Linked DNA regions of Homo sapiens: regions 2, 3, 4, 5, 6 and 7 are each linked to region 1. The links are contacts of gene promoters, found by promoter capture Hi-C in blood cells and fetal thymus (Javierre and others, 2016). All regions are on one chromosome and are shown on one strand. Each heading gives the region's core, a stretch centred on a gene start or on the middle of the fragment in contact. The rest is flanking DNA. Distances are from core to core; before and after follow the strand shown. Region 1 holds the start of KLHDC10 (kelch domain containing 10). Region 2 overlaps LOC105375508 (a long non-coding RNA gene). Region 3 has its middle 19 kb from the start of KLF14. Region 4 has its middle 19 kb from the start of MIR29A. Region 5 overlaps LOC105375508 (a long non-coding RNA gene). Region 6 has its middle 5.2 kb from the start of TSGA13. Region 7 overlaps LOC105375508 (a long non-coding RNA gene).

Region 1 (2,700 bases), core at 95-2,594:
ATAATAATTTTTGACTAGAAGTATAAGGTACAGTCTTAAGCACAATTCATAAAAACCAATTCATCATGTTCTCAAAACTCATCAGCTAAACAAATATATCACTAATATAATCAATATTATTCACAAAAAACACGATGAATAATTAACACATCATTCCTGATAGTTCTTTTCATAGTAAAAATAAGCTTGCCCAGTGGGATATTTGACGTTCTCTGCATTATTTAATTCCCTACCTTCCTTCTACTAGATTGAATATTCAATTACAAACATACCTCTTTAAAATTGTCTACACATACATATCCACTTGATTTTATTTTGTTTTCAAAAGCATCTGAACTCAAGGCTAGGGCACTGTAGACCAAAATGTCAAATAATTGTATTGGGTACATTTTTCCAATTCTCAGTTGTTTTTATATTGTAAACACAGCATAATTGTGTCACTAAGTATATTTTTGATCTTCACTTTCTCCCCTTAAAACCTAGACACCATTATCCTGTCTCTGAACATTCCAAAATATTAATAATCCAACTAGTTTTCCCTAATCCTCTAGGTTCTCTTTCCCATACACTCCCCAGCCAACACTCCCCCACCCCTTTCTTCCGTTTCAGAATGCCTCTTACACACACGCCCCGTGTAGTTTTTACAAAATCACTCCTTGGAATGCGTTTCCTTCTTCTCTCCTTAACTTGGCACCCTTTTTGAAATAATTTCCCACAGCTAGGCGCCAATGTCTTTCATTTACAAGATCAAACTGCGGAAGGGGAAGAGATTGGGAATCGAGTAACCGAAACATTTGGAAATGTCAATGAGACAGTGGCCTCTCCTTTGAAAAGAAAACACAACTCTCAGCACAGAGCTTTCAACAGAGCACAGATACTTTTCTTCGCTGTGCTCCTGTTCCCTCCCTGACCTCAAAGACACCTTCCCTTTTCTCTGATCCCCAGTCCCTCTGCTATGCGTGGGGCCTGCCTTTCCTCCTCCCAAGGAAAAGCAAGCCAGGGAGAAAAAGAAAAGGTAGCAGTCACCTTCCCGCCCGCAAGCGGTCAGGACCCTGTCCCACGACTCACCTGGCAGGTGCGGCCGCCCGGAGAGTTGCACGAAGCGGTTGAGCTGGCCAGTCCCCCGACCCCCGCTGCCCCCACTGCCCCCGCCGGCCCCGCTACCTCCGCCACCAGCGCCGGCGGCGCCTCCTCCCCTCCGGCGGTTCCTGTCCCAGCCCTGGGCGGCCGACATGACCCGCTAACGATTGCCGCAGCCCGGTCCCGTCAGCGCCTGACCCAGCGGAACCAGCGGAGCCTCCTTCCTGGGCTCCTCCAGAGACCCAGGAGACAGGGGAAGGGGGCAGCGCCCGGTCCCACCAGAGACCAATGACTTACCGCCTTGGTGAAAGGCAGCCAATGGTCAGTCGTTTTCTTGGTAGGTGGCGGGAGGCGGAGAGAAACGTGGTAACCATAGCTATGGCTAAAAAAAAAAAAGTAGGGGGAGAGAAAGGCAGAAGCAGCCACTCCTAGCTCTCATCGTCCGCTCTGGGCTGGCCGGCGTCACCCCGACTCCTGCGGGGCCAGGCGGGCCAATCGAAGACCGAGTGTCAGAGGCCGCGCCTGCGGAAAGACTCCCGGGGACGGCCAGTGCCTCAGTCTTGGTTAGGATTCAGGAACTTTTTCCCATAAACATTGCAATCAGACACTGGATATACGCATAATACACATATTTGGGGGCAAGACGGTATTCTGCCAGCTTTTCAGATTGAGATCCCATTCACTGATGGTTGACACACACAAAGGGCTTGCTTGGGGTCCGGGTAGGTGAGGGGACCCAGGGGCGGAGTCAAAGCTAAAATGTAAGAACCAGATATTCCTGGGTTTCATTTGTCTTTCAGTCGGCTTAGCTGCATTTGTCCCTGTATAAGCCACGTCCCAATCAAACAGTTTTAAACCTGGTTAACAAATATGGGAAAATGTTCACTCTCACCTGTAATCTTAGAAATACAAAATAAAACCCCAATGAGAAACCATTTCTGGTTTATTACATCAGTAAAGACTTTTCAAATAACACCTGGCAGTGTGTGGAATGCCAAGAAAAAGGTATTCTCATAGATGGCTGATGGCTCTGTAAATATTTTTGTTCGCTCAAACTCCTTTTGGCTAGTAGAAAATTTTAATCAGCTTGGAAGATATATAATCAAGAGGAAATGTAAAATTAAATAAAAGGCAGCAACGGGTATGGAAGATCAAGATCAAAGAAAATTTTTAATGTGCCGATCAGGAGTTTCTATTGTTCCAAAATTAAACAGAAATTTTGGCTTGAAACTTACTGGGCGCAATGCAGACTGGGAAAACATACTATACACTGATGTTTCTGAATGATAAGGAAAAAGCATATCAAATTCCTCAAGGGAAACAAAACTTTTCAAGGTCCTTAGATGTGACAGATTTTTTTTTCTTTTGCATTAGAAGAACCTTACATGGTTGCAGAGAAAAAAAAGAAACTCTGCTGGAGCTGAGGACAAATACCCTTTGTACCTGGTGTGCAAATTTCTGGTCGCCACTGGCACTGCCTCCTTGTTTTCCTACTTCCAGTCCCTGTAGGCAGAAATGTTTTAGTCACTAGCACCATAGCACGCTGCTTATGAAAATGTTTGAGACTTGAAAAAAAAAAAAGCCTATGGTTCTAAAATATAAAAACCAAAATTAATATAT
Region 2 (2,720 bases), core at 57-2,556, 740 kb before region 1:
AGTGAGATACCATCTCACACCAGTTAGAATGGCGATCATTAAAAAGTCAGGAAACAACAGATGCTGGAGAGGGTGTGGAGAAACAGGAACGCTTTTACACTGTTGGTGGGAGTGTAAATTAGTTCAACCATTGTGGAAAACAGTGTGGCGATACCTCAAGGATCTAGAACCAGAAATACCATTTGACACAGCAATCCCATTACTGGGTATACCCAAAGGATTATAAATCATGCTACTATAAAGACACATGCACACGTACGTTTATTGCAGCACTGTTCCCAATAACAAAGACTTGGAACCAACCCAAATGCCCATCAATGATAGACTAGATTAAGAAAATGTGACACATATACACCATAGAATACTATGCAGCCATAAAAAAGGATCAGTTCATGTCCTTTGCAGGGACACGGATGAAGCTGGAAACCATCATTTGCAGCAAACTAACACAGGAACAGAAAATCAAACACCACATGTTCTCACTCATAAGTGGGAGTTGAACAATGAGAACACATAGACACAGGGAGGGGATCATCACACACTGGGGCCTGTTGTGGAGTGGGGCGCTGGGGAGGAGATAGCACTAGAAGAAATACCTAATGTATACGATGGGTTGATGGGTGCAGCAAACCCCCATGGCACATGTATACCTATGTAACACACCTGCGCGTTCTGCACATGTATCCCAGATCTTAAAGTATATATATATATATATATATATATATATATATATATATATATATATATATATATATATATATAAATACTAGGTAGCAACAAAAGAAAAGTCATGTAAAACATGAGACTTGAAATAGAAAAAAAAAGAAAATTAGCTATGAAATGTGGCCTTGGATTGTCCAATGAATGGAGCTAAGTATACAGATGTTAGTAGCTGCATCCAGTTGAAGCTATTTGACATGGGAGAAGTGTAGGGTATAATAGGACATAGTTTTTTTGTTTTGTTTTGTTTTTTTTGAGACAGAGTCTCGCTCTGTCATCCAGGCTGGAGTGCATGGCAGATCTCGGCTCACTGCAAGCTCTGCCTCCCGGGTTCAAGAGATTCTCCTGCCTCAGCCTCCCAAGTAGCTGGGACTACAGGCTCCCGCCAGCACGCCCAGCTAATTTTTGTTATTTTTAGTAGAGATGGGGTTTCACCATATTGGCCAGGCTGGTCTCGAACTCCTGACCTTGTGATCCACCCACCTCAGCCTCCCAAAGTGCTGGGATTACAGGCGTGAGCCATGGCGCCTGGCCAACAGGACATACATTTTTAAAGATATATGTGGTAGCCAGCCTCCAAAACAGTCCTCAAATGCTTCCTGCCTTCTGGTATTTACCTTTGGGTAACTGTATCAAGAGTGGACCAAGAGAATATGGAAGAAGTATATCACTTTTTATACTGACTGATAATTCACAGACAAAGTCTGTGAATTTTAAAGTGTATAATTTGCTGATTTTTAGTATGTTCACCAAATTGTGCAATTACCACCACAATCTAGTTTCAAAATATTTTCATCACTCCCAAAAGAAACTCTGTACCCATTAATAGTAACTTCCCATTTATCCCTCTCTCCCATGCACTGGCAACCACTAATCTACTTTCCATCTCTATGGATTTATGGATTATAGATTTATGGAAAAGTCATAAATAGTTAATTCAGGAGCTTTCATATAAAGGAAATCATATAATAAGTAGCCTTATATATCTGGCTTTTTTCATTTAGTGTAATCCATGTTGTAGCGTGTATAAATACTTCATTCCTCCTTATGGCTGAATAATATTTCATTGTATGATTATACTACATTTTGTTTATCCATTCATTAGTTAATGGACATATGGGTTTTTCCCACCTTTTGACTGTTATGAAAAATGCTGCCATGAACTTATTTTTATTCTTTGTTGTTCATCTACATTAGTATTTAGGACTATGAATTTTCTAGATCTGATACTCTCATGTCCAGCTTTATTGTATTATGAGCAGAAGCTGTGATACTGCAATTTTTTTTTTACTATGGATTGACATTTTACTTGTAGCTTAGTAGCTAATCAATTTTGGAAACTAATCATGGGCACTTAAAAACAAGATGTATGCTTGGCTTTCAGGTGTGGAATTTTATATATCTCTATTAGATATACTTATTAATTACCTTAGCAAAGGTAGGAGGTAGTGAGTGTAAATATGCCAGTTTCCTCATCTTCTATAATAAAGAGTTGACATAGTTCAAAGCTGATAAATCAATATGAGAAATATTAGCCTATTATTTAAAGATATGACAATAATATTGGGTAGCCAAACCTAGGTGTGAAGGAAGGATAGGGAGGTGAGGTGTCGAATTATACTTATTTCCTCATTTTTCAAAGTGGGAATTCAATATAAATCCAATTATAAGGTAAAAAATGACTTAGTGTATTATGTCAATAACCAAAATATGTGAGATAACTGTGCCATTATAAGAAAACAATACTCACATTGGATCAGAAAGTAAAATCATTTATAAAGAACACACCTAAAACAAAGTTACTCATAAACTTGAAAAATAAGAGGACAGGGTGATTCATACATGGCAAATTAAATAAAGAGAATGCAGAGACTTTAATATCAGGCAATGGGAAACTGAAGACAAAGGACATTAAATGAGGCAAACATGCCATTCCACATTGATAACTTAGCAGTCATGACCACTCACACCCAAATAAACAATCAAAACAAATGAAGAAA
Region 3 (2,700 bases), core at 25-2,524, 640 kb before region 1:
AGGGGAAGGGAGAATCCAGCATCCTTAGTCCCATACAGATTTTCCATGGTCCTCAACTTGGAACTCCAGGCAAATTTAAATTGGGTACTAAGGGCCAAGCATGGTGGCTTATGTCTCTAATCCCAGCACTTTGGGAGGCCAAGGTCGGTGGATCACCTGAGGTCAGGAGTTCGAGACCAGCCTGGCCAACATGGTGAAACCCTGTCTCTACTAAAAATACAAAAAATTAGCTTGGCATGGTAGGGCACGTCCGTAGTCACAGCTACTCAGGAGGCTGAGGCAGGAGAATCGCTTGAACCTGGGAGGCAGAGGTTGCAGTGAGCCAAGATCACACCACTGTACTCCAGCCTGGGTGACAGAGAAAGACTTTGTCTCAACAAAAAAAAAATTAAATTAAATTAAATTAAATTAAAAAATAAATTGGGTTCTAAGGATAGAGGCCAGTCTTTTTATCTCCCAGTTGGAAACTGGAGTGTGATTACTATTGTATGCTAGCATTTTATACTTAAAACTGTTTGACCTTCATAAAAGAGAGAATGTAGTCCCCTGTCTAGGTCCTATTAGTATTTAGAGTATCCTTGGCCATCTCACAGAGCCAACGTAGGATCTGGATCCTAGGGGGAGAAGACGTTAGAAGCTTCTGTCTCCCTAGTGAGAAAGATACATATGTTGAAATCCTTTAATTCTGCTAAAGCACCTGTATTAGATACAATTGCTTTGGCTGGAAGCAACAGAAAACCCTACAGTAACTTAACAAATAGAGTTTTATTTTTCTTATATAACAAGAAATTTGGAGGAAAGTGCTGCTGTGATTTGTTCAGTTCACTCTATACTGGCAGGTTCAGCATCTCTTATTCTGCCATATCGTGGCCACAGAACAATAGGGCCAGCTCTAGGCATCTTACTCATGTTTAAAGCAGGAAGAAAGGTAAGGTATAATTTGAGCCACAGTGCACAAGTAATCCCAGCTACTTGGGAAGCTGGGGTGGGAGGGTCACTTGGGCCCAGGAGTTTGAGACAAGCCTGGGAAACATAGCAAGACCCCATCTCAAAAAAAAAAAATAGAAAGTAAGCTGGAACCACTGGCATCTCTCCATTTTACTCAGAAAGCAAAAGCTTTCCAGAATTGTTCCTACCCATTCCAAGTGATGAGTGGCATTTTCTTTCACTTCTCAAGGGCCAGTACTGGTTCACATAACCATCTCTAGCTGCAAGAAAGTATGGGAAAATGCTTAAAGGATTGTTGTAATGAACTTAATCTCATTGTGGTCCATATCCTGATGCCTCCCTGTAGAAAACTGAGGTTTGCTTTGCAGAGAATAAAGGGAGGATATATATTTTTGGTAGAAAATTGAGAGAATCTGCCATAGCACCCTACTGACCTTTCAGTGGCATGTGCCATCCTGAAGTAGTTGTTTACTTTTAAAGCTTGGGGGGTAGACTAGTGTCTACCAGTTGGAAAACGGGAGTGTCTACCCCCCAAGCTTTAGGCTCCCATATATCATAGTAAACTACTGACCCATTGAAAAAATATGAATATATCATAAATAAGTAGGGGCAGAGATTCAGCCCTTTGATTCCCCAGAATGTTTAATGAGTCTATTTTTACATATTTATAATTACTCAAATTACCCTTACAAATTAAAGCACAGGACTTATTAAAATTGGCAAATCAAACAGGTGACATGCCTGCTATTTGGTTATTACAAACATTAGCATCTGGCCTCTCTTTGAAATTGCACATACCAATCATTGCTACAAATATCAGACAACATTATCTTTTCCCTACCCACACTCTCCTAAACAAATAAGGAACAGGAGGATGGGAAGGAAGAGAAAATACTTTCCTTATTTTTAGGGGCTTGCTAATCTTAAATTGTAAGTAGCTGTCCCTGCCTCTGACAGCCAGTCAGTGCTGCCTTGACCTTTAGTAAGAACCTCCTGCTTTGGGGGCCATATTTCAGACTCTTAGAGCTGACATTTATTACTTTCTAATTGCTGATTGACACACGATGATCTTTGACTCGTTAAGGTTTGTAAGAAACATTATTTCTCTTGAAGATACTTTCTCTGTAAGAATGTGGCCCGGCACGGTGGCTCATGCCTGTAATCCCAGCACTTTGGGAGTCCGAGACGAGCAGATCACCTGAGGTTGGGAGTTCGAGACCAGCCCGACCAACATGGAGACCTTGTCTCTACTAAAAATACAAAATTAGCCGGGCGCGGTGGTGGGAGCCTGTAATCCCAGCTACTCAGGAGTCTGAGGCAGGAGAATCACTGGAACCCAGGAGGCAGAGGTTGCGGTGAGCCGAGATCGCACCATTGCACTCCAGCCTGGGCAACAAGAGCGAAACTCTGTCATAAAAAAAAAAAAAAAAAAAAAAAAAAAAAAGGAATGCAAGGGGATGGGAGCTGAGGCAGGAGAATCGCTTGAACTCGGCAGGAAGGCGGAGGTTGCAGTGAGCCAAGATTGCGCCACTGCGCTCCAGCCTGGGCAACAAGAGTGAGACTCCATCTCAAAAAAAAAAAAAAAAAAAATGTAAGGGGAGGCCCAGCGTGGTGGCTCATGCCTGTACTCTCACCACTTTGGGAAGCCAAGGTGGGAGGATCACCTGAGGTCAGGAGTTGGAGACCAGCCTGGCCACCATGGTGAAACCCCGTCTCTACTAAAAATACAAAATTAGCCAGGCATGGTGGCGG
Region 4 (2,700 bases), core at 140-2,639, 790 kb before region 1:
GATATTTACTGCTATAAAATTCCATGTTAGTACTACTTTTTCTGTATCCTATAGATTCTTGTATGTTTTGTTTCCATTTTTATTTTTTTCAAGAAATTTCTAAATTTCCTTCTTAATTTCTTCACTGACCAACCGGTTGTCTGGAAACATGTTGTTTAATTTCCATGTATTTGTACAGTTTTTAACATTCCTCATTTTATTGACTTATAGTTTTACTCTATTGTGGTCAGAAAAGATACTTGATATAATTTCCACTTTTTTGTATTTGTTGAGACTTGTTTCATGGTCCAACATATAGTCTGTCCTGGAGAATGTTCCATGTGCTGATGAAGAATGCGTATTCTGTAGCAGTTGGGTGAAATATTCTGTAAATGTCTGTTAGGTCCATTTGGTGTACAGTTTCACTCTGATGTTTCTTTGTTGATTTTCTGCCTGAATGATCTTTCCATTGTCAAAAGTAGGATGCTGAAATCCCCTCTTACTGCTGCATTGCAGTCTATCTCTCCCTTCAGATCTATTAATATTTGCTTTGTATATTTGGGTACTCTGGTGTTGGGTGTGTATATATTTACTATTGTTATATCCTCTAGCTGAATTGACCTCTTAATCATTATATAATAACCCTATTTATCTCTTTTTACAGTTTTTAATTTAAAGTCTATTTTAGCTCATATAGTTACTCCTGCTCTTTTTTGGTTTCCATTGCATGGGATATCATCTTTCTATCCCTTCACTTTCAGTCTATGTGTATCTTTACAGGTGAATTGAGTTTCTTGTAGACAGCATATTGTTGGGTCTTGTTTTTTAATCCATGCAGCTACTCTTTGTTTTTTTAATTGGAGAATTCAGTCCATTTACATTCAATGTTACTATTGATAGATAAGGCCTTACTGCCATACTGTTACTTGTTTACTAGCTGTAGGTAACTCCTCTCTTCCTTTCTTTGTCTTTCTTTGTGGTTAAGTGATTTTTCTCTGGTAGTATGTTTTGTTACTTTTTATTTTTAGTCTATCTGTTATAGGTTTTAGCTTTGTAGTTACCGTTAAGCTTACAAAACAAATCCTACAGTTATAACAGGTATTTAAAACTGATGCCAACTTAATTTTGATCATAAAAAAGCAAAGAAACAACCCAAACAGGTTAACTCCCTTCTTCCTCCACATTTACAGTTTTTGATGTCACCAATTACCCTTTTTTATTGCCTGTCTCTTAACAAATTATTTTCAAAATTATTTTAATAGTTTTGACTTTCAGTCTTTTGGCCAAAGATATAAGTGGTTTATCACAATTACAATATTACTATAATAATTACGTTAGAGTCCTTTTCTTTCAGTTTGAAGAATTTCCTTTAGCATTTTTTGTGGGACAGTTCTGGTTGCTATAAATATAAAGTCCGTCTGGGATAGTCTTTATCTCTCCATTTCTGAAGAACTTTTTTTGATACAGTATTCTTGGTTGGCCATTTTTTTCCTACAACACTCTGAATATTATCATCTCCCTCCTGGCCTGAAAAGTTTCTGCTGAGAAGTCTGATGCCAGGAGTATTGGATCTCCCTTATATGTTATTTGCCTCTTTTCTCTTGCTGCTTTTAGAATCCTCTCTTTGTCTTTCATTTTTGCAAGTTCGATGTAATATGTCTTGGGATATTCTTATTTGGGTTGAATCTGATTGGTGATCTTTGATCTTCCTGGCTTTGGTATTTGTATCTTTCTCCAGGGTTGGAAAGCTTTCTATTATTTCTCTGAAGAAGCTTTCTACCCCTTTGTCTTTCTCAGTTCCCTCTTTAACTCCAATAATGAATATTTTCTTTTTTGATGTTGTCTCATACATATTGTAAGCTTTTTTCATTATTTTTATTCCTTTTTTTTTCCTCTGTGTATATCCAAATAATCTGTCACTGATTACTTCTGCCATTGATGCTCTATATTGCATTTTTCATTTCATTCATTGTATTTTTCAGCTCCAGGATTTTTTGATTTTTAAAATTTTTTCAATGTCTCTATTAAATTTTTCTGATACATTTCTGAATTGATTTTCTGTTTTCTGGAATTTCATTGAGTCTCCTTAAAGCAGCTATTTTGAATTATTTGTATGAGAGATCACACATCTCTATCACTGTAGGGTTGGTCGCTGGCACCTTGTTTTACCTCATTTGTGAGGTCATATTTCCCTGAATGTTTTTGATGCCTGTAGAAGTACAACAATGTCTACATATTTAGGAATTAGGTATTTATTTTAGTCTTTGCATTCTGGCTTTGTTTGTGCCTGTCCTTCAGAGGGCCTTTCGGATTCTAAGCTGACTGACTGTTGTGTTCCCTGAGCCTGTGACCACTGCAGCCAGATATCTCAGCACTAGAGGACACTCCAAGCCCAGGCTTGCCGTGAGTTTCATGAGGACTCTGAGGTTGACATGGCTTTCCAGCCCAGATGGACCTAGAGAAGACCCCAGGCAGATACTGGACTGAGGGACCTGAGTCCAGAAAACTGTCCTTGTGGCCCAGACAAGTGTGTCTCCCAGCAGATCTCTGCATTTCTCAACTGCAGCAAGAGGAGATGGAGTTGAGACTGGACCACTTCAGGATCAGCTGTGAGAAGGAGCTGGTGGGCCTATCTCATTGTCTCAGATGAACATGCATCACCCAGCTGGTCCCTGTATGAGTGGGGTAGTTCCTAGACTGAAGCAGTAGGGGCTAGAGCTG
Region 5 (2,731 bases), core at 69-2,568, 710 kb before region 1:
TAAATTGTATGCTAAAAACTATAAAACACTAATAAAAGAAATCAAAGTAAATATAAATTGAGAGACACACCATGTTCACAGAATGAAAGACTCAATATAGTAAAGATGTCACCTCTTCTCAGATGGATATACAGGTTTAATACAATTCCTATAAATATCCCAGAAATATTTTTTGTAAGTTATTCCAAAATTTATATGGAAAGTCAAAGAAGTAGAATGGCTAAAATAACTGTGAAAAACAAGAATAAATTGAAGGAAAGTACTCTACTCCATTTAAGACATTATACAGATAAAGTAATCCAGATGTGTGTTACTGGCAGAGAGATAGACACATAGATCAATGAAAGAGAATACAGAACCCACTAACAACTAACTTTTGAGGATACAAAAGCAATTTAGTGATGAAAGGATACTCTTTTCATCAAATAATGTGGGGGCAATTGGATCTCCATATGCAAAAAGATAACCTCAACCAAAACCTCACAGCTTATACAAAAGTTAATTCAAAACTGATAATAAATTAAATATTAAATATAAAACTATATACCTTTTAGAAAAAAAGAATGGGAAAAAATCTGCAGTACTTAGGACTCGGGGAAGAATTCTTAGACATGGCACCAAAAGCATGATCCATAAAAGAAAAAAATTGATAAACTGGATGCCATCAAAAATAATAACTTTTGCTCTGTGAAAGACACTGTTCAGATAATAAAGAGACAAACTGAAAACTAAAAGAAGTTATTTGCAAACCACATATCTGATGAAAGACTCATGCTTAAAATAGTTAAAGCATTCTCAAAATTCAACAGTAAAGAAGGCACCCAATTAGAAAATGGACAAATGACATGAAGAGATATTTTACTGAAGAGAGCACATGGATGCAAAAAGCATATTAAGAGATGTCCAACATCACTATTCATTGGAGAATTAAAAATAAATACCATTACGAGATATCACCATGTACCTATTAATACAGCAAAATAAAAAGAAATAGTAATAACATCAAATGGTGACAAAGATGCAGAGAGACTGGATTTCTCATACATTGCTGGTGGGAATGCAAAATGGTAGAGCAACTCTAGAAAACAATTCAGCAGTTTCTTCAAAAACTATACAGTTGACCCTTATTATCCTTAAGGGATTGGTTTCAGGTCCCCCTGCAGATATCAAAATCCATGGATGCTCAAGTCCCTTATATAAAATGGCGCATCTTATCTGATCTTAGAATCAGGGTTGGGCCTGGTTAGAATAGAAAATAAAATGGTGGAGTATTTGCATATAACTTACATATATCCTCTCATACTTTAAATCATCTCTAGATTATTTACAATACCTAATACAATGCAAATGCTATTTCAATAGTTGACATACTGTATTTTCTAAAATTTATATTATTTCCTATTGTTGTATTGTTATTTTTATGTTTTTTCCCAAAATATTTTTGATCCATGGTTGGCTGAATTCATTGATGTAGAACCCACGGATATGGAGGGCCAACTGTATGTACATTTACCATATGACCCAGCAATCACATTCCCAGGCATTTATCCCAAAGAAATGAAAACTTAACTTCACACAAAAACCTGTGCATGATTTCCATGATTGTTCATAAAAACTTTATTTGTACTAGTGAAAACCTAGAAAAAAACAAAAATGTACTTCAATAGGTGAATAGTTAAACAAACTTTAGTACATCATACCTTGGAATACTTCTCAGCAATAAAAAGTAAATGAACTTTTGTTCATTTACAATTTAAATGGGGTTTCAGGGCATTATATTGAGTCTTTTTTAAAAGGCAGCCTCAAAAGGTCACATACTGTATGATTCCACTTATGTAAAATTCTGAAAATGACAAAAATCATAGGGTTGGAGAACAAATTAGTGGTTGTCAAGGCTAAAAGACGGTAGGGAGTGGAGTGGATGTGACACAGAAAAGTAGCATGAGGGAGGTCTTTGTGGTGAGGGGGATAGCTCTGCACCTTGATTGCAGCAGTGGTTAAAGGAAGCTACTCTTGTGACAAATGGCATAAAACTATATACACACATTGTAACAATGTCAATTTCCTGGCTTTGCTATTATACTGTAGTTAGATAAGATCTAACTATTGAACAAAACTGGTTGAGGGGTACATCAGATCTCTGTACACTATTTTTGCAACTTTCTGTGAATCTTTATTTCCAAAGAAAAAGTTTTACAAAAAGTACATTTTGGACTGGAATTCTAAATTTGCCACCTAAATAATTTATTTATTAGAAATGGGGGTCTTGCTCTGTTGCTCAGGCTGGAATATGGTAGTGTAATCACAGCTCACTGCAGACTTGACCTCCCAGGCTCAAGCAATCCTCCCACCTCAGCCTCCCATGTAGTCAGGACCACAGGTGCATACCACCATGCCTGGCTACTTTAAAAATTTTTTTTTATAGAGATGTGGTCTCCCTATGTTGCCCAGGCTGGTCTTGAACCCCTGGCCTGAAGCAATCCTCCTGCCTTGGTCTCCAAAGTGCTGGGATTATAGCCGTGAACCACTGTGCTCAGCCAAGAAAGAAAGGAGAAGGAGGAGAAGGAGGAGTTGTTGAAGGAGGATGAGGAGGAGGAAGAGGAGGAGGAGGGGAAGGGGAAGAAGGGTAGGAGGAGGAGGAAGAAAAACAACAACAAGAAAAAGAAGTGGAGGAGGAGGAAGAACAACAACAAGAAAAAGAGGAGGAGGAGGAGAAAAGGGATGGAGATCG
Region 6 (2,796 bases), core at 211-2,710, 620 kb before region 1:
CACCATGCCCAGCTAATGGGATTGTTTGTTTTTTCTTGTATATTAAGTTCCTTATAGATTCTGGGTATTATGCCTTTGTCAGATGCATAATTTTCAGTTTGCAAAAATTTTCTCCCATTCTGTAGGTTGTCTGTTTACTAAATTCAACATCACTTAGCATTAGATAAATGCAAATTAAAACCACAATGAGATATCATCTCACACCAGTCAGAATGGTTATTACTAAAAAGTCACAAAATAACAGATTCTGGCAAGATTGTGGAGAAAAAGGAATGCTTATACACTGTCCTCAAAGACCTAAAGACAGAAATACCATTTGATCCAGCAATGTCATTACCAGGTATATACCCAAAGGAATATAAATCGTTCTATTATAAAGACACATGCACATACATGTTCATTGTGGCACTATTCATAATAGCAAAGACATGGAATCCACCTAAATGCCCATCAGTGATAGACTGGATAAAGAAAATGTGGTACATATACACCATGGAATATTATGCAGTCATGAAAAAGAATGGGATCATGTCCTTTGCAGGGAAATAGATGAGGCTGGAGGCCATCATCCTTAGGAAACTAACACAGAAACAGGAAACCAAAAACAGTATGTTCTCACTTATGAGTGGGAGCTAAATGATAAAAACACATGGACACACAGAGGGAAACAACACACACTGGGGCCTATCAGAGGGTGGAAGGTGGGAGAAGGGAGAGGATCAGGAAAAATAACTAATGGATACTAGGCTTAATATCTGGGTGATGAAATAATCTGTACAACAAACCTCCATGACACATGTTTACCTATGTAACAAGCCTGCACATCCTGCACATGTACCCCTGAACTTAAAATAAAAGTTAAAAAAAAAGAGGAGGAGAAGACATGGGATTTCTCACTGCTGTCGGCAGAGAATGTCTGAATGGGGATGCATATCCACTGCTCCTTCATGTATCATCCCGCCATGTTGGAAACATTCAGAAATTTGCCATGTTGGGCATCTTCAGTCCCAGAGTTTTTCCTGAGACCACCTTCTATCCCTTGCTGTCCATCTTGTACATTTAAAACCTCATTTCCCCCCCACCCAGTTTTGTTTCTCCTTTGGTCCCCATTTTCCTGACACTCCAGTGCTAAATTGAATGTAAGTACTGAGTGGAGAGACAGCTTCCACTTTCGTAAGTAGATTTCCCCACATTTTTAATAGACAAATCTACAGAAAAATTGGATGGCCTTGATTCCTAATTCCCAGATTCCCAGCCTCCTGCTCTTCTCTGTATTCCTCCACTTCTGGCAGCTTCTTAGCTCCCTATTCTTGCCAGAGCAGCTATTGCTGCTGCTATATTCTACTCCTCATAAAATGCATTAGCCCTAAAAATCATTTTCCATTCATTCATCTCTGAATAATGCTAGCTTTGTTGAGTCTTGGTGTTGGTCAATACATGAGATTAATGAATTTATAAACTCTGCTCCTGCTTTCTTACCAGAGATGGAGGGCAGGTTGCTAGGCAAACCTCCCTGCCCAGTCCCCAGTTTCTATCTGGCTTTCATTTTTTGCTTTGCTGGGGAGATAACTTTCTCAAATTCCTACTTACATATTCTCTGGTATCTGAGTCTATGTAGACTATGTAAAATAACAGTTGTAGCATTCACTGTAGTCAGGATGTTGATTTAGGTTGGTGCAAAAGTAATATTTGAGGTGCCAATTACATCTCTTTCCCTTACCGGTTCTGAAGCAGTTAGTAAACACATGCAAAAATCTGGTAAGTTCAGAATATCAGCTTTCTGCTAGAAGTTGGTTTGGAGACTGGCTGGGGCCTGAACATACATTGGGCTTCCTAAAACATCCCCCTGAACTGGAAAGATTTACCCAGCCACTGATAAATGATAGGCCTCTCCTCAAGAAAGCAAGAGCTTCATGTGTCACCAGCAGGCTGTTTAAGAAAGAAAGAGTGGGCCGGGCACAGTGGCTCACGCCTATAATACCAGGACTTTGGGAGGCCGAGGGCAGATCACGAGGTCAGGAGATCGAGACCATCCTGGCTAACACGGTGAAACCCTACCTCTACTAAAAAAATACAAAAAATTAGCCAGGCGTGGTAGTGGGTGCCTGTAGTCCCAGCTACTTGGGAGGCTGAGACAGGAGAATGGTGTGAACCCAGGAGGTGGAGCTTGCAGTGAGCCGAGATCATGCCACTGCACTCCAGCCTGGGTGACACAGCAAGACTCCATCAAAAAAAAAAAAAAAAAAAAAAAAGGAAAGAAAGAAGGAAGGAAAGAAGGAAGGAAGGAAGGAGAGAAAGGAAAGAAGGAAGGAAGAGTGGCTAGGTATAGTAGCTCATGCCTGTAATCCCAGCACTTTGGGAGGCTGAGAGAGGAAGATTGTTTGAGGCCAGGATTTCAAGACCAGCCTGGGCAACACAGTGAGACCATGTCTCTTTAAAAAAAAAAAAAAAAAAGCTGGGCATGGTGGTGCATGCCTGTAGTCCCAGCTACTCAGGAGGCTGAGGTGGGTGGGTGCCTGAGCCCAGGAGTTTGAAGCTGCAGTGACCTATGATGATGCCACTGCACTTCAGCCTGGGTAACAGAATGAGACCCTGTCTGAAAATGCAAGAAAGAAAGACAGAAAGAAAGAGAGAGAGAGAGAGAGAGAGAGAGAGAGAGAGAGAGAGAGAGAAGGAAAGAAAGAAAGAAAGAAAGAAAGAAAGAAAGAAGGAAAGAAAGAAAGAAAGAAAGAAAGAAAGAAAGAAAGAAAGAAGAAGAAAGAAAGAAAGAAAAAGAAAGAATGAAAGAAGACAAAA
Region 7 (2,978 bases), core at 9-2,508, 760 kb before region 1:
TTCAAATCCATTTGACATCCACGTGCATATGTTAGATGAACTACTAGAGAGGCAACCCCATTTCTCAAGGGAATGCCCAGAGCTAAAAATGTCTACATTTGGGAGTCACTAGCATATAAGTGATATTTAAGTCGAGGGACCAGATTAGATCATCTAGAGAGGGAATTTATTTATTTATTTATTTATTTATTTATTTTTCTTGAGAGGGAGTTTCGCTCTGTCACCCAGGCTGGAGTGCAGTGGCGCGATCTTGGCTCACTGCAACCGCTGCCTCCCAGGTTTAAATGATTCTCCTGCCTCAGCCTCCCAAGTAGCTGGGACTACAGGCATGCGCCACCACACCCAGCTAATTTTTGTATTTTTAGTAGAAACGGGGTTTTGCCATGTTGGCCAGGCTGGTCTCAAACTCCTGACCTCAGGTGATCCACCCGCCTCGGCCTCCCAAAGTGCTGGGATTACAGGCATGAGCCACCACACCCGGTCTAGACAGGGAATTTAAATAGAAAAAAAGATGTGGAAATAGGTGAAAAGACAGACAAACGTGTGGTCACTAGAGCCAAAGGAAAAACATATTTTGAGTGCTTTTGAGAGGTCGAGTGAGACGTGAGTATTGACAGTATTTTAACATGGAGGCTATCAGTAGCTTTGACCAGAAAAGCTTTAATGGAGTTAGGGAGGGGAAAGCCAGATTGAGGAAGTTGAAGAGAGAATGGAGGAGAATGAAGAAAAAAGAAAAGAAAAGAAGAGAGAGAGAGAGAAAGAAAGAAAAAAGAAAGAAAGAGAATTTCCATAAGTTTTACTCTGATAGGGAACAAAAAGTGAGATGGAGCCTGGGCGGAGTCCTGTGGGAAGGGCAGATTTTTCTTCTCTTAAGATGGGAGATACTTGGGTGTGTTTATTTGCTGATGCTGTTGAGTAGGCAGGAGTGAACTGAAGACAAAGGAGATTAATAGATTAATTCACAAGGGAAGAAATGGGTCTGATCCAGAGGAGAGATCCTTCAACCAAGGATGGCAAAGGCAGGCAGATGTTGGTCTTACTGATGAAACTACAAAGGATTGCTCTTTAATTGTGGCTATTTTTACTGAGTTATGAACAAAATAAATGGAATAATATTTGATGAATATTAAATAAAAACTGAATAAAGACCTGAAACTGCATATTGAAAGGATGCCCATGAAGCAAATAATGGAAGGCCCTATATGTTTCTTGGTTAATATTAAATTTTAAGAGCAAAGAATAAATTCTATCAGCATGTAAACAGAAAATAAAGTTTACAAACAAAGGAAAAAGTCAGGCTGCATTTTGGTCCAGCCATGATGGAATAGTTTATATCAAGATTATAAATGTCCTACAGAAAACAACTGTAAAAGATATACCATATACATTAAAAAACTGTTTTAAATTTTTGGAGAGCATGTAACTAAGACAGGATTTGAGGAACTGTGATACCTGAGACCAGTGAGGCCAACCTCATGTTTACTGCCTTTTTCCTTGAAGGCACTTGCTATTTCACAGCAAAGCAACGGAACAGGGGTCCAACAGAAACAGCAGATGGAATTTAGGAAATATCTGTTTCATAATTCAAAAATGATACAATTGTATAAGCAGAAAATTAAAAAGAATCAACAGATGGACGATTAGAAATAATGAATTAGCAAGGACATGGGACACAAGACTTATAATAAAAAGTCAATATTTTTTACAGTGAGGCTCAAAGGACTTTGTTGAAGGCTATACTCTAAAATACTAAGGCATTAAATGCATATTTTAAATTTGCCCTTTAAGTTTTGGGGTGGTTGAGAAATTCAGTAAAAAATATTTCCAAATAACATGCAGAAGTTGTTTTTAAGCTTAAAAGCTCATATTTTAGCTACACCCACACAGATGATGTAGAAAACAGCTGAATTTCGGTGTATCTGAATGGTCCAGATTATGTTCCTTCTGAAAGAGACAGTTTTACGTACGATCATTTTTCATATGAAGCATATAAAAAGACACCCAGAAACTACCACGTATTTACCACATAGACAATGTCCATCTTTATCTGTAATTCAAAACCATGTAATTCCTTTTATGCAACAGACTGCAGTGTGTGAGAAGTATGTCAAGAGAAGAGTAAAAAAACAACCAGGAGCTGGGCGCAGTGGCTCATGCCTGTAATCTCAGCACTTTGGGAGGCCAAGGCGGGCGGATCACGAGGTCAGGAGATCGAGACCACCCTGGTTAACACGGTGAAACCCCGTCTCTACTAAAAATACAAAAAATGAGCTGGGCGTGGTGGCGGGCACCTGTAGTCCCAGCTACTCAGGAGGCTGAGGCAGGAGAATGGCGTAAACCTGGGAGGCGGAGCTTGCAGTGAGCCGAGATCGCGCCACTGCACTCCAGCCTGGGCGACAAAGCGAGACTCTGTCTCAACAACAACAAAAAAACAACCAGGAGTACATTCATTAAAAAAAAACTCAGCTGAGTGCGGTGGCTCAGGCCTGTAATCCCAGCACTTTGGGAGGATGAGGCAGCCAGATCACCTGTGGTCAGGAGTTTGAGACCAGCCTGACCAAAATGGTGAAATCCCCTCTCTACTAAAAATACAAAAATTAGCCAGGCGTGGTAGCACACGCCTATAGTCCCAGCTACTCGGGAGGCTGAGGAAGGAGAATCGCTTGAATCCAGGAAGCGGAGATTGCAGTCCGTCGAGATTGTGCCACTGTACTCCAGCCTGGGTGACAGAGCGAGACTCTGTCTCAAAATAAATTAATTAACTAAATAAAAGAAATTTAAAAAATTTTAAGTCAATGCTATTTTTATACACTAACAACAACAAAAAAATTAGACCACGGAATTTGTAAAAACCAGGTTGGCCTTACATTCTGTCACAATATGTGATGTCAGAAAATAAGAGAACATTGCCTAACAAGTTTTTTTCCTTTAAAATTATGCTATTTATTTGACATGATATATAAACTCAAAGCATTTTA

What was found. The method cuts DNA at HindIII sites, captures the fragments that hold promoters and counts their contacts. A CHiCAGO score of 5 or more calls a contact.
Region 2: a contact is called between a fragment that was not itself captured here and the fragment with the promoter of KLHDC10 in region 1, in 2 of 17 cell types (megakaryocytes and erythroblasts). The highest score is 6.5, in megakaryocytes.
Region 3: a fragment that was not itself captured here is called in contact with the fragment with the promoter of KLHDC10 in region 1 in 4 of 17 cell types (megakaryocytes, endothelial precursors, erythroblasts and 1 more); the score reaches 22.1 in megakaryocytes.
Region 4: a contact is called between a fragment that was not itself captured here and the fragment with the promoter of KLHDC10 in region 1, in 1 of 17 cell types (total B cells). The highest score is 5.3, in total B cells.
Region 5: a contact is called between a fragment that was not itself captured here and the fragment with the promoter of KLHDC10 in region 1, in 1 of 17 cell types (megakaryocytes). The highest score is 6.6, in megakaryocytes.
Region 6: a contact is called between a fragment that was not itself captured here and the fragment with the promoter of KLHDC10 in region 1, in 8 of 17 cell types (megakaryocytes, endothelial precursors, M2 macrophages and 5 more). The highest score is 15.9, in megakaryocytes.
Region 7: a contact is called between a fragment that was not itself captured here and the fragment with the promoter of KLHDC10 in region 1, in 17 of 17 cell types (fetal thymus, total B cells, naive CD8 T cells and 14 more). The highest score is 46.7, in fetal thymus.

Annotation. Positions count from the first base shown.
Region 1 is chr7:130,069,178-130,071,877 of GRCh38, reverse strand. It overlaps KLHDC10 (kelch domain containing 10), which reads right to left and starts at 1,344. Exons shown (of 10, transcript NM_014997.4): 1 at 1,069-1,344. The coding sequence starts at 1,234. RefSeq lists a silencer at 1,140-1,309 and enhancers at 1,410-1,599, 1,630-1,829. The HindIII fragment of the contact is 10,740 bases long and covers 188-2,700 here.
Region 2 is chr7:130,810,675-130,813,394 of GRCh38, reverse strand. All of the region lies in intron 3 of LOC105375508 (a long non-coding RNA gene), which reads right to left. All of the region lies in intron 2 of LOC105375509 (a long non-coding RNA gene), which reads left to right. Among named protein-coding and RNA genes, the nearest start is that of MIR29A, 65 kb to the left of the region's middle. The HindIII fragment of the contact is 4,325 bases long and covers 1-2,720 here.
Region 3 is chr7:130,713,652-130,716,351 of GRCh38, reverse strand. No RefSeq gene overlaps it. Among named protein-coding and RNA genes, the nearest start is that of KLF14, 19 kb to the left of the region's middle. The HindIII fragment of the contact is 312 bases long and covers 1,119-1,430 here.
Region 4 is chr7:130,856,268-130,858,967 of GRCh38, reverse strand. No RefSeq gene overlaps it. Among named protein-coding and RNA genes, the nearest start is that of MIR29A, 19 kb to the left of the region's middle. The HindIII fragment of the contact is 680 bases long and covers 1,050-1,729 here.
Region 5 is chr7:130,774,356-130,777,086 of GRCh38, reverse strand. The region is part of intron 3 of LOC105375508 (a long non-coding RNA gene); the gene reads right to left. Among named protein-coding and RNA genes, the nearest start is that of KLF14, 42 kb to the right of the region's middle. The HindIII fragment of the contact is 7,695 bases long and covers 1-2,731 here.
Region 6 is chr7:130,690,313-130,693,108 of GRCh38, reverse strand. No RefSeq gene overlaps it. Among named protein-coding and RNA genes, the nearest start is that of TSGA13, 5.2 kb to the right of the region's middle. The HindIII fragment of the contact is 3,861 bases long and covers 1-2,796 here.
Region 7 is chr7:130,832,774-130,835,751 of GRCh38, reverse strand. All of the region lies in intron 3 of LOC105375508 (a long non-coding RNA gene), which reads right to left. Among named protein-coding and RNA genes, the nearest start is that of MIR29A, 43 kb to the left of the region's middle. The HindIII fragment of the contact is 1,195 bases long and covers 661-1,855 here.